Regions from separate parts of the Homo sapiens genome. Here region 2 is linked to region 1. Evidence: promoter capture Hi-C in 16 types of primary human blood cells and fetal thymus (Javierre and others, 2016). All regions are on one chromosome and are shown on one strand. Each heading gives the region's core, a stretch centred on a gene start or on the middle of the fragment in contact. The rest is flanking DNA. Distances are from core to core; before and after follow the strand shown.

The links. The method cuts DNA at HindIII sites, captures the fragments that hold promoters and counts their contacts. A CHiCAGO score of 5 or more calls a contact.
Region 2: a contact is called between a fragment that was not itself captured here and the fragment with the promoter of SPMIP5 in region 1, in 4 of 17 cell types (naive CD4 T cells, naive CD8 T cells, non-activated CD4 T cells and 1 more). The highest score is 9.6, in naive CD4 T cells.

The regions. Positions count from the first base shown.
Region 1 is chr10:116,667,956-116,673,036 of GRCh38, forward strand. SPMIP5 (sperm microtubule inner protein 5) reads right to left here and starts at 2,011. Exons shown (of 6, transcript NM_001350931.2): 1 at 1,972-2,011; 2 at 303-368. The coding sequence starts at 357. HSPA12A (heat shock protein family A (Hsp70) member 12A) reads right to left here. Exons shown (of 12, transcript NM_025015.3): 12 at 3,237-5,081. It overlaps HSPA12A-AS1 (HSPA12A antisense RNA 1), which reads left to right and starts at 2,100. Exons shown (of 3, transcript NR_187551.1): 1 at 2,100-2,323; 2 at 2,439-2,530; 3 at 4,250-4,783. The HindIII fragment of the contact is 1,303 bases long and covers 1,520-2,822 here.
Region 2 is chr10:117,157,712-117,162,792 of GRCh38, forward strand. MIR3663HG (MIR3663 host gene) reads right to left here. Exons shown (of 3, transcript NR_121651.1): 2 at 2,903-3,129. Among named protein-coding and RNA genes, the nearest start is that of MIR3663, 7.5 kb to the right of the region's middle. RefSeq lists an enhancer at 1,649-2,405. The HindIII fragment of the contact is 3,762 bases long and covers 1,169-4,930 here.

The sequences.
Region 1 (5,081 bases), core at 761-3,260:
ATCACATTGTGTCTATCCTCATCACATTGTGTCTATCCTGGTCCAAATTCATTCAACAGGCATTAAGTGCTTCCTCTGCATACCAGGCCATGTTCTGGGACGTGTGGTCTAAGTTCTGCCCCTCAGAACCCGGCCATCAGCCATCTTCAGCGATGGAATGCTCTCAATGCATGTCTGAGAAGCTAGAGCGCCTAGACTGGTCCAGTTGGCTGCACAGACACAGACAGTGGGTCAAGGCAGGGACAGTGACCAGGACCCGGGTTCCCCTGCCAGGCACAGCTGCAGGGTACGTCCACACTTACCGCTATAGCCTGGTGTGATTGGCAGGTTTCTCATGAAGGTCTTGGAAGGCTCCATGATTTCGCTCTCTGTTAGTGGAGGGAAGAGGGAATGAAACGGTCTCATCAAAAGTCACTGCCTTAAGGAATTACTATTGAGTGTGCACAAGCTCTTGGGAGTGGAAGAATGACTGCCAGGAGTTGGGGCTGAGAGGCAGCACTACCACCTTACCCAAAGCCAGAGACACAGCTGGCTTCAGTCACAAACCAATGACCTATTACCAAGGGCCCATCACCTTTTATGTTAACTTGGATAACAGTGTGTAGATCACACCTACCAGGGTCTCCTCTCCCCTCCATCCGACCTCCAGCCATCCAACAATTGTGAACTGTACTCATACTATGGCTGTGAAACATGATAGAGGCTGGGAATGCAAAGCTTCTGAGCAAGCCCAGAAGCCCCTGTGTTAGGTTCATGAGCCTCAGGTGAGGAGAGAGATGAGGCCCGCACACCCCCAGACCTCCTTCTTGATCCAGGTGAAATCAGGTTGCAGTGGTGATTTTTGCCAGCCCCCACCATTACCCCTGGAACATCTGGCAATGTCCAGAGGCATATTTGGCTGTCAGAAGTGGGGGATGGGATGCTACTGAACATCCTGCAATGCTCAGAAGCCTCCCCCCACCCGCCGGCACACACATGCACACACACACACACACACACACACACACACACACACAAACAAGGGAGAAGAAATTCTGGCTTGAAGGAATCAGGAAGTCCCAAAAGGCAGACATGGAGTCCAAGGAGGGTAAGCAGAGGCCACCCTCTGCTTCAGGGGGCTCCACTGAAACATCAGTTTATGTGGATGCTGTTTCTGCAATAAGACACCTTCCCTCTTTGGGTATCGCTGGTCATTCCCCCCAAGTGGGCTGAGGCCTTGCCAAGTCCTGCCCTGCTGAGCCAGTTCATCTCTTTAAAGAAATGCCTTTGAGGCTGGAAGAAGAGGATTCAGGGTGGAGGAGAGGGCCACAGTCATGGCTTAGTCAGCAATGATGGGGATTGTTAAGACAGTTCAGCCCCCGCCAGGCTGACAGCAGTGAGGACTGTGCCGCGTCTAGGCCACTCTAACCCCTGGCATCACGTACCTGACTCCTGGGAGGAAGCACTGGGCCTGGAGTCAGACAGACCTGGCTGTGAGACCATGTCCCACCCATACTGACCACCTGCTTACTTTTCTGAAAGCTTTCCACGCTTGTTTAATCCTCTCAACAGCCCCATGATATAAATGCTATATTATACCCATTCCCCAATTTAAAAAGGCAACAGACAGGGAACACTGGCTATCCCCATGTGGTTGCAGCAGAACCGCATTCTCCTTTAATCCCCACAGCTTCCCTAAGAATGAGTTCCTGTTGGAACCCCCATTTTATAAATGTGAAAAATAAGGCACAGAGAGGTTAGGTAACTGGTTTCAGGGTTCCAGAGTGAAAGGGGGTGCGAACAGATGACCTCTAAACTCTCAGGGACAGGATATGTTGCCCAAAAGCATCAGCTGGGGTATAAGCCTGCCTGGAGGAGGTGGGCAGGGAGGAGGGTGGGAAGAAAGGCGGTGTCCTGAGAAAGGGGGCTAGGAGTGGGTAGAAAGTAGGGCCCCTCCTAGCCACCCTCTTCCAATCCCACCTCAGCGCTCACCTGGGCGGGGCTGGCGCTATCCGGTGCCCACTTGGCCTCTGCCCGGCCGCCCAGGATCCCTGCCTTCCACCAGGCCTTTGTGCGCTCACCCGGTGGAGCACAAAGGCCCCACCACCGCCAGCCTGCCCCTCCCCCACCCTTCCCGCGGTCCCACCTGGAAGGTGGGCGCTTCCCCCAGCGCCCGGCACAGCCCGGACCCCGGTGTAAAGTCGGGCATCTGCGCAGTAAACATCTGGCCTCGGAGCTGTCCTCCGCGCCTTGGCTGCCCCAGCCAGGGGAAGGATATGCGGAGGGCTCTAAGTCAAAGCGGGCGTTTTTGCGGGTGTAGACACTGCGGCGCCTGGGTCTGCAGGTCTGGCCGGGGAAGCGGGTGGGCGGGAACAGGGGGCGGGGCCGGCAGTGGGCGGGAGGAGGCGAGGCCTGGGGGCCCTGGCGCCTCCAATACAGGAGCTTCCTGGGCCTGGCAGCCCCTCCCTCCCTGTCTCCTGTTAGGAGGGGCAGATTTTCAGGTGGCCGGGACAGGTGAAGGCAGAGAGGAGTGGCTGTCCACCTGGGGAAGGTGAGTCATCCTTCTTTCTAATCACTCTTGGAGGGACACCCAGACTTCCTCTCATTGAATTGAAACCCACCAAGATGTCCGCCCTATGAACCAGCATGTGCTGGCTGCTCCCTTTACAGAAAATGACGCTGAAGCTGCGCTACTTCCAGGACACGCTTGTTTGCTGCACCTCCCGGCCTTCCCTACCTCTACTTTTCTGAAAATTGAACTGCAAATGAAGGCTGGTGGAGCCGACCACCATTTATACCTCTCTTTTATCACCCCATTTAGAACATACCTCGGGCCATCAGGAAGCTTTCAGAGCCAACTGTGGAGGGCGACTCAGGTGTAGGCTCTGGACACAGCCAGTTTCACGTGACGGCTGGGATGCCCAGGGGCAAGAGCCCAGCCAGGCCTTCTGCATGTTTTAATGACTTACACTGGGGTGCAGTGGCATTGGCAGTGGTCACTCTGCTTACCTGCCCTCCCTCTGGCTAGACCACTTTCTTCCAGAGAAAAGGGGCTCTGTGCCCATCGATGGGGCCTTGGTTCCCAGCAAACAAAGGGCCTAGTCTTGTTAGAATAACTTAAGAAAACTTACAGCACCTGGAAAAAACTGAAACTCTCTCTCCACCACCTGAGATGGGGTAGAGAGGGAGATCAGTACTGACGTGTCCATCATGCAGTTTGCAAACCCAGGATGGGGGGAAAAAAAATCTGGGCCACATGAGATTCAGAGTTTTGCTTTATTAGGCGTCTGTGAAGACAAGAGAGTTTGCAGACACAGTCCCGTCTGGTGGTGAACTGCTGCAAAGTTCTGTGAAGTTTGAATTTATCTTGTAGTGAATGAGACCCCAGTAGCTGATATTTTAGAATACTGGTCCATATTTCAAGCAGATGAGAGGTGTGGCATTATGGCCAACAACTTTTATATTAGCCATCCACTCAAGCCGTTTCCCAGCATACATATGCAGCTTAATCACAGCTATACATCTCTACAATGTGAAATTCGATCTTTGACTAATAATGCATTCTGACTCCTGTTTACATTGGTGCATGCGATTCTTTGCTACCCTGGCAATTAACCAGACCTGGACTCTAAAAGCTAAACTTGGTCTAAATAACATTCTAAGGGTAAGGCAACCTCTATAATCTGGACTCAGCCATCATTTTGCAAAAACAGTTGTATGGTTCCTCCTCTTTCCCCTCCTGTCTGTAACTTGTCTGTTACTCAGCATTTATTCATGCCTGCTGTGTACGGAAAGGGCAGTTACAAAGGAAAGCCTTGATGATTCTGCTTCCAAGAAACGTGAAGATCAGATAATATGCCAGGGACAATTGAGTAATGGGTCAAGACAACAGGCCTTGTAGGTATTTTCTAAGGTTAGAAAAATGTGTTCAAGTGTACTTATCCAGTGCTCTTATTCTAGAATATTCCAGTGGGGGTAGGGAAGGAGGGATGGATTTGGGGGTTTCATTTAAGGACTCTGACAACTGGGGCTGCAGCTCTGTGGCCAGAAGATAAAATTATCATCCTCTCCATCACCTATCTGCCAACACTGCAGATTTCTATCTGCTCATTTAAGAGAAACAGTACACAGGGAGATAGCATTAATGCAAGGCAGGAAAGGCTTTACATTAGCCCAAAAAAGAGGGGCTTGACCATGTTACTCACACTTACACTTAGCCCAGCAGAAAAGCTGGGCTTATGTACCACTTGGTTTCTTTCTTTGACCCTAGCATCCTGAAAACATCACACACAGTGGACCACGCTTTGCCCTCAGAGTGACTGCTCCGACCCGGAAGGAGAGGTCAACGACCCCTCAGGACACAAAGGGTTTCTTAGGTTGTTCTGCGCAGTCACATGGCTTCCAGAACCAGAACGTTCAGCTCTTAAAGTCTGCACAGAAGAACTGATAGAATCTGCTCCTTTCAATGGAATCTGTGACTGTTTGGGAAGGATGTGCATGGAGAAGGGTCTGATGAGGCTCCTGATCCAGGCGGTCCACGTGCGTTCAGTGTGTTTGGACCCTAGGCACCTCTGTCTATTGCTCGGTCTTGCGTACATAGTCCATAGCTTGGCATCAGCACAGATCGATGCTTAGTGAGCACAATTAAGAAACCAAACTATGGAAAATTAAGGACAGTAACAAAAGTATCATCAACAAAAATCAAGCATTTTCCTCTTTTTGAAACAAGAAAAGCGCATCGTAGAAACCAAGATTCTGTACAATATTCTAACATTATATGTACATAAAATTATATTACTCATAACTATATTGAAAAGTCTTATTTGTAGAATATGGCTGGCAACAAAGAAAGACCCATACCATTTAGCGTTTGAAGCAGGGCAGGTAGCAAGAGAACATTAGCAAAGACACCTTTGTGCCTGGATACACAATCCTGCTACTAAGTTATGTGACTAACCAGCACACTCTAAGTTCTGTGGTTTGTTCGTTGTTTCACATTCTAGTAGGGAATTCTGCAGCAGGCGATGCGAAAAAGAAGACATGGTCAAATGAAATGTGAAATGCTGTTTAAAATCTGCATATTGGCTATGATAATGGGTTTG
Region 2 (5,081 bases), core at 1,800-4,299, 490 kb after region 1:
AGACTTCTCTGAGCCTCCCAATCCATCAGTAGGGAAATGAGAACTTCTTACAAGCCATTGTAAGAACTTCTCCCCTATTTCAGGCATTCCTTATGAAAGCTTTTTTTGTCACATGTCTGATATCCTTAAGGAAAAATAAAACGTGTTGGCCTTAATGATTTCAACCTCTTAGACTTAAATGGAACACAGTAATATGCCAGTTAATTTCTGCTTGTAGGTTCCCAAGTAGGGCTTAAAAATATATTCTAGCTTTCTCAACTATTTTTCATAAAGAAGAATCATCATGACTGTGAAGACCACTGTGATTTGTGGAATAAATCCATAAATGTATAACCCAAACAGATCAACTAAATGAAGCTTCCCTCGAGCATGACAGTAAGTCGGCTGGGCTCTAGGAACAAAATGTGTAAGCACAACACTCACAGAGTGGATATTCTTTCAAGTGATAGAGACAGGGTTGGGAAGGACTCTAGAGTTAGAGCCTTCCATGGGCAGTGCTGTTTATTGTATACACAAATAATAGTGACAATCGCTAATATTGACTGTGGAATGCTTTACATGCACCTTGTCATTCACACTTTCTTACAAATAATGGGGCACTATTCCTTTTATTTCTTCTACTCTTAGAAATAACAGAAGCTCAGAGTGGTTAGTAACTTGCTCTATCACCTAGAGAGCAAATGGGGGAGCCAGGCTTCAAATGTGGGTGTGTCTGCCTCCTGATCCCCAACTCTTAAGCATTTTGCCATTTCATCTTTCACCAAGGCTCTCCTGCTCTCCAGCATGATCTGGGCTCTGAACTGTTTCTCCACTAGCCATCTGAGGATAGGTTTCCACCAATTCAGCCACCGAGCTGCTGGAGACGGGGGTTATTAGATTACCATCTCAGAGCAAAACAAAATCAGTATAAAATCTTAGCCTCATTAGCATGGGACTCAGTCTCCTCAGGTAGCCAGTCTTGGCCATTGATTTTTTATTATATGCAGCAGTTACATTTCAGTTTCTCAAGTTACTCATAGCTACATATGAGTAATAAAATGATAGCAACAACTGGAGTGATGCTAACCATTAGTTTGCCTTGAGTCCAAGGACAAAACAAAGTCTTAAGTGTCCTACTCACTCCTTAGCTCCAAAGTAAACAAGTCTTTCTGCTACTAGTACTGGATTAAGCTTCATAACATTGTCCAGGTGAAAGTACTTAGGGCTGGAGGCCTGTGTAGATGCTTGTAAAGAGGGAGATGCTTTGGCAGATTAAACCCATTCTGTGGGCTTGTTCTATTTTCTGGAAAATCTCAAGTATGACAAAATAGCTCCAACGAGTTATTGTTCATCAACATCTGTCATAAATGTTAGAAATCTTGGCATCATTTATCTCTATCTCAATCTCATCTCTATCTACATTTATAATTTACTTATGTATTTAAAAAGAAATAGAAAAAAACACCCTGGTCTAATGGAAAACATCTCAGCTCTAGTGGTTCCCAACCTTTTGGGGTTTGAGAATCAACAACACAATGTTATGAAACCTTTTGGGGTTTGCTATTCAATAACAAAACAAAAAAAGATAAAACAACTATAAATAAATCCTATCTGGCTGATTTAAATTATAGAGCTCATGCAGCTTGAGCAAACCCTCTTCCCTTAGCCATGGTGTGATTCCTCTTGATTGAGAATCGAGTTTCTAGGCTACTTCTCAGAGAATGAAATTACAAAACACAAGATAGCAGATTTTTAAAAAATTGTCACCAGGTATCCCTGCTGGATATCAAGTGACTGGGTCAGAAACTCAGTTGGAAACTCTGCTTAAAGAAGAGCGGAACAAATCCCCCTTGCCTGGGAGGCCAAACAGAGCATTGTTTTAGTTCCGTAGGAGATAATGACAATGGAATAAAACATTGTCCCGGGTAATGGTCTCCCGCTGGTAGGGAAATGCGTAGGCAAAAACAAACAAGGGGCTGAACTGCTACCTTCTTTTTAAAGCAAAAACTGTTGATCCTGGAACTGAGTACCTCCTAGCAGCTTCCATTTGGTTATATTAAGTCTTACATTTGGAGGTGCTCTGGGCTGGGGTGTCGCTGGGTAAATAGGGGGCAGGGTACAGATGTTAAGAGAGCCGCTAGCTCTACTGCTTCTGAACTGCTGGCTTCAGAGATAGGCTTAGGGGACCATTTTGAATTTCATCAGCCACTGGACAAAACAGGCTTTCCATAAAAACACAATCACCACTTCATGCTTTGCTGCCAGCTGAGATCTCCCTGCTGCCATATTCCACCCTCATGCCACCCATTTTATGACTGCCGATTAGACTGATATATATTGTATTGGTAAAGTTCTGCATTTCTTGAAAAGAAAACCTTTATAAAATAAAGAAGAATGAAGCCAATAATCCATTCATTTGACACAGAAAGTCAGCACTTTCCGATCTTTCTCCTTTTTTCCCTTGCAAGATAATATAATATGTAGAGACTGTCTAATGTGTCTCTCAAAACAAGATTTAAATCAGAGATCAAAAGTGGGTAGTGATTTAAAATTCTAAATTTTGGAAAAATAGCAACTATCCTTTCATTTTTGAAACAAAAATAAATGAAAATTCAGGGCCAAAGTCGTCCTTCTGCCAACTGGAGCTTCTGTAGAACACACAGCTCAGACTCTACCACACAGATGGAAAATAGTCCGAATGCATGCTGGCAGTATTCTTTCATTCCACGAACTTCTACAGTTTCCTTTAAAGCAGCATGGCATTCAAAAGTTGAGGTCCAATTCATCTTTGCTGTTAATGAGGCATTTTACAAGTGTATTTTTTTTTCTTGGGAAAAAATTTTGAATTGGGTAAAACAAATGGCAAGTGGATATTTAAAAACAAAAACAAAAACAAAAACAAAAACAAAAAACACCTCCTTACTTGGACTGGTGATTGACTTGCTTAGAATTCTCTGGGCCAGCATTTCATTTCCTGATGGCTGCCATTTCCCCTCCCATTCCAAGTTCTCTCTACTTGGGGCTGACACAGGACGTGGAAATACTAATATGGCTGCTGGGACTCCTTTCGTGTATTTCAGCAAGAGAATTATTTCGTATCAGTGCTCAGTGTCTCTCCAACTTTTCCATTTCCTCTAAGGTCAGGTTTCCCTACAAAGAAGAACGCCATATCGATTGTTAGTAACAGGAACTAAGCATTTGGGGGCCAGACACACAACTTTTCTGTTTCATGGTGTCACTGGCAGAAGAGGATCCTGGCCTGAATACACATTGGAAAGAGGCAATTTATATTTTTATTACAGTCATTAATCTGATATTTCTAATTTAAAAACATTCATTTGGAAAAAACTCAATGATGAGACAAAACAGTGTTTTTGCCCTGTTACCTGTATGTAATTATCTCAGTTTTCTCCCTCACCTTTGTGGCTTGATGAGGATTCCCTGGTTAAACGCAACTCCAGTACGTAATAAAGGGCATCAGTTACTTTTGAAGGTGCTTTGGCAATGTGGTCACTAATGTAAGTAACCATCACAGAAACCTCAAGTCGAGAGAATAAATGGGAGAATAATAAGCAGAGAGAACTAGCATAGGGAAAAAGTTAAGGGGGGGAGGTAAAAATTTGGTGGAAACAGAAAAACTCTTTAATGTGGATGCTAAGGAACAAGATCAAAGTATAAGAATTTGGATTAGGCAGGATCAGTTCAAGTTGTTAATAAAAATATGTGGGAAGAAACGAAAGCAAACAGTTCTCGGATCAGTCTCCAGGTATTCAGGGCTGGCCAAACACAACGAGAAGTGGAAAAGGGGTGATAATTAGTAACAAATATGAAGGTGTGTAGACACTTTGGGCAATTCCGATCTTAACGCCTCCTCTTCCTCAATATCACAGTGCTTCATGCAAAACAAGGGACTGCTTAGAATTCTGTCTTCAGCCTTCATGAATCTGGTCAGGAGTTTCTGCATCTTCCTTACCTTGTCAGCATGCTCAAAATATTTAATGCGATGACCTCTCACTCAGTAGGCATGGGATGCCTAAACCTGTATCATTTCAGCCTTTGCCCTAAAGCAGAGTTCTTCAGTAATGCAAAATTTCCTATATGAGAACTTCTGCTTCAACAACAGTAAGGTCCCAGGCACACAAGGAAATGCCCAATGCAAAGAATCTGGCAGGAAAATGAATGGTTGTGAAGATTGGGCTCCAACTCCTTTTAAAAAAGAGTTCCAGGAACATGTTTACTGTGTAATTTTGCCATGAGAAAGTTCATGGGAACCATTTTCAAGTCTCAGGAAAGTCTATTTGGTAAGGTAGGAAGTTTGCAAGTTCAGAGACTATTTTTTTTTAAAGAAACAAATTTCAATCACTTTAATAAACACTTTAAAAGCAATTTATGATAACTGTAGCCTTCCAATGACTAGGGCTACACTGAACTTTCCAAGCCGAAACATTCATCCTTGTATTCAGGAAAAGTCCTCTCAACAATTTGGAAAAATATTAAAAATATGAAAGCAATTGAAAAATCACTTTCACCTGTGCAATATCCTTCTTTCATGAATGTCTCCAATTACATAGCTAGGGTTACAGATTTTCACAAACACAGTTTCATTTTTGATAGTTATGTAGCTGTAATTTCAGGCCATTTCACTCTATTGAAAGGTACGGGGGCTGCCTTTGCCCTCTCTTCCTCCTGTCGCTTAAACCATCCAAGAAAACATCAAGAAATTAAATAAGAAGGGAAAACAAGAGGTAGAGATCGTATTCAAAAGACTGGAGTCCACCACATGAGAAGAATCAAGTTTGTAACCGCTGGGGTTACCTCCCTGCTCTGTCTTCCATCTGGGCAATGGGCTAACATCCCCGGGCTGGGGGTGTCTGAGGAGGATGAAGACATCCTCAGCGCTGCAGAGGTGCTAAGAAAACAGCCAGCTGTCTCCTGACTTAGAATTTTTGAAAGCTTTCGGGCCTCTCTGAGAAAGCCGTTCCAAATCCACCCCGTATCAATTTGCCTTCTAGAAGCGGCAGGATAAGCACACGGGTTTGGGCAGTGCTCACATTTTGGGTTTATTGGCTTGATGGGGTTGTTTGGGGCGCTCTCAGTTACAA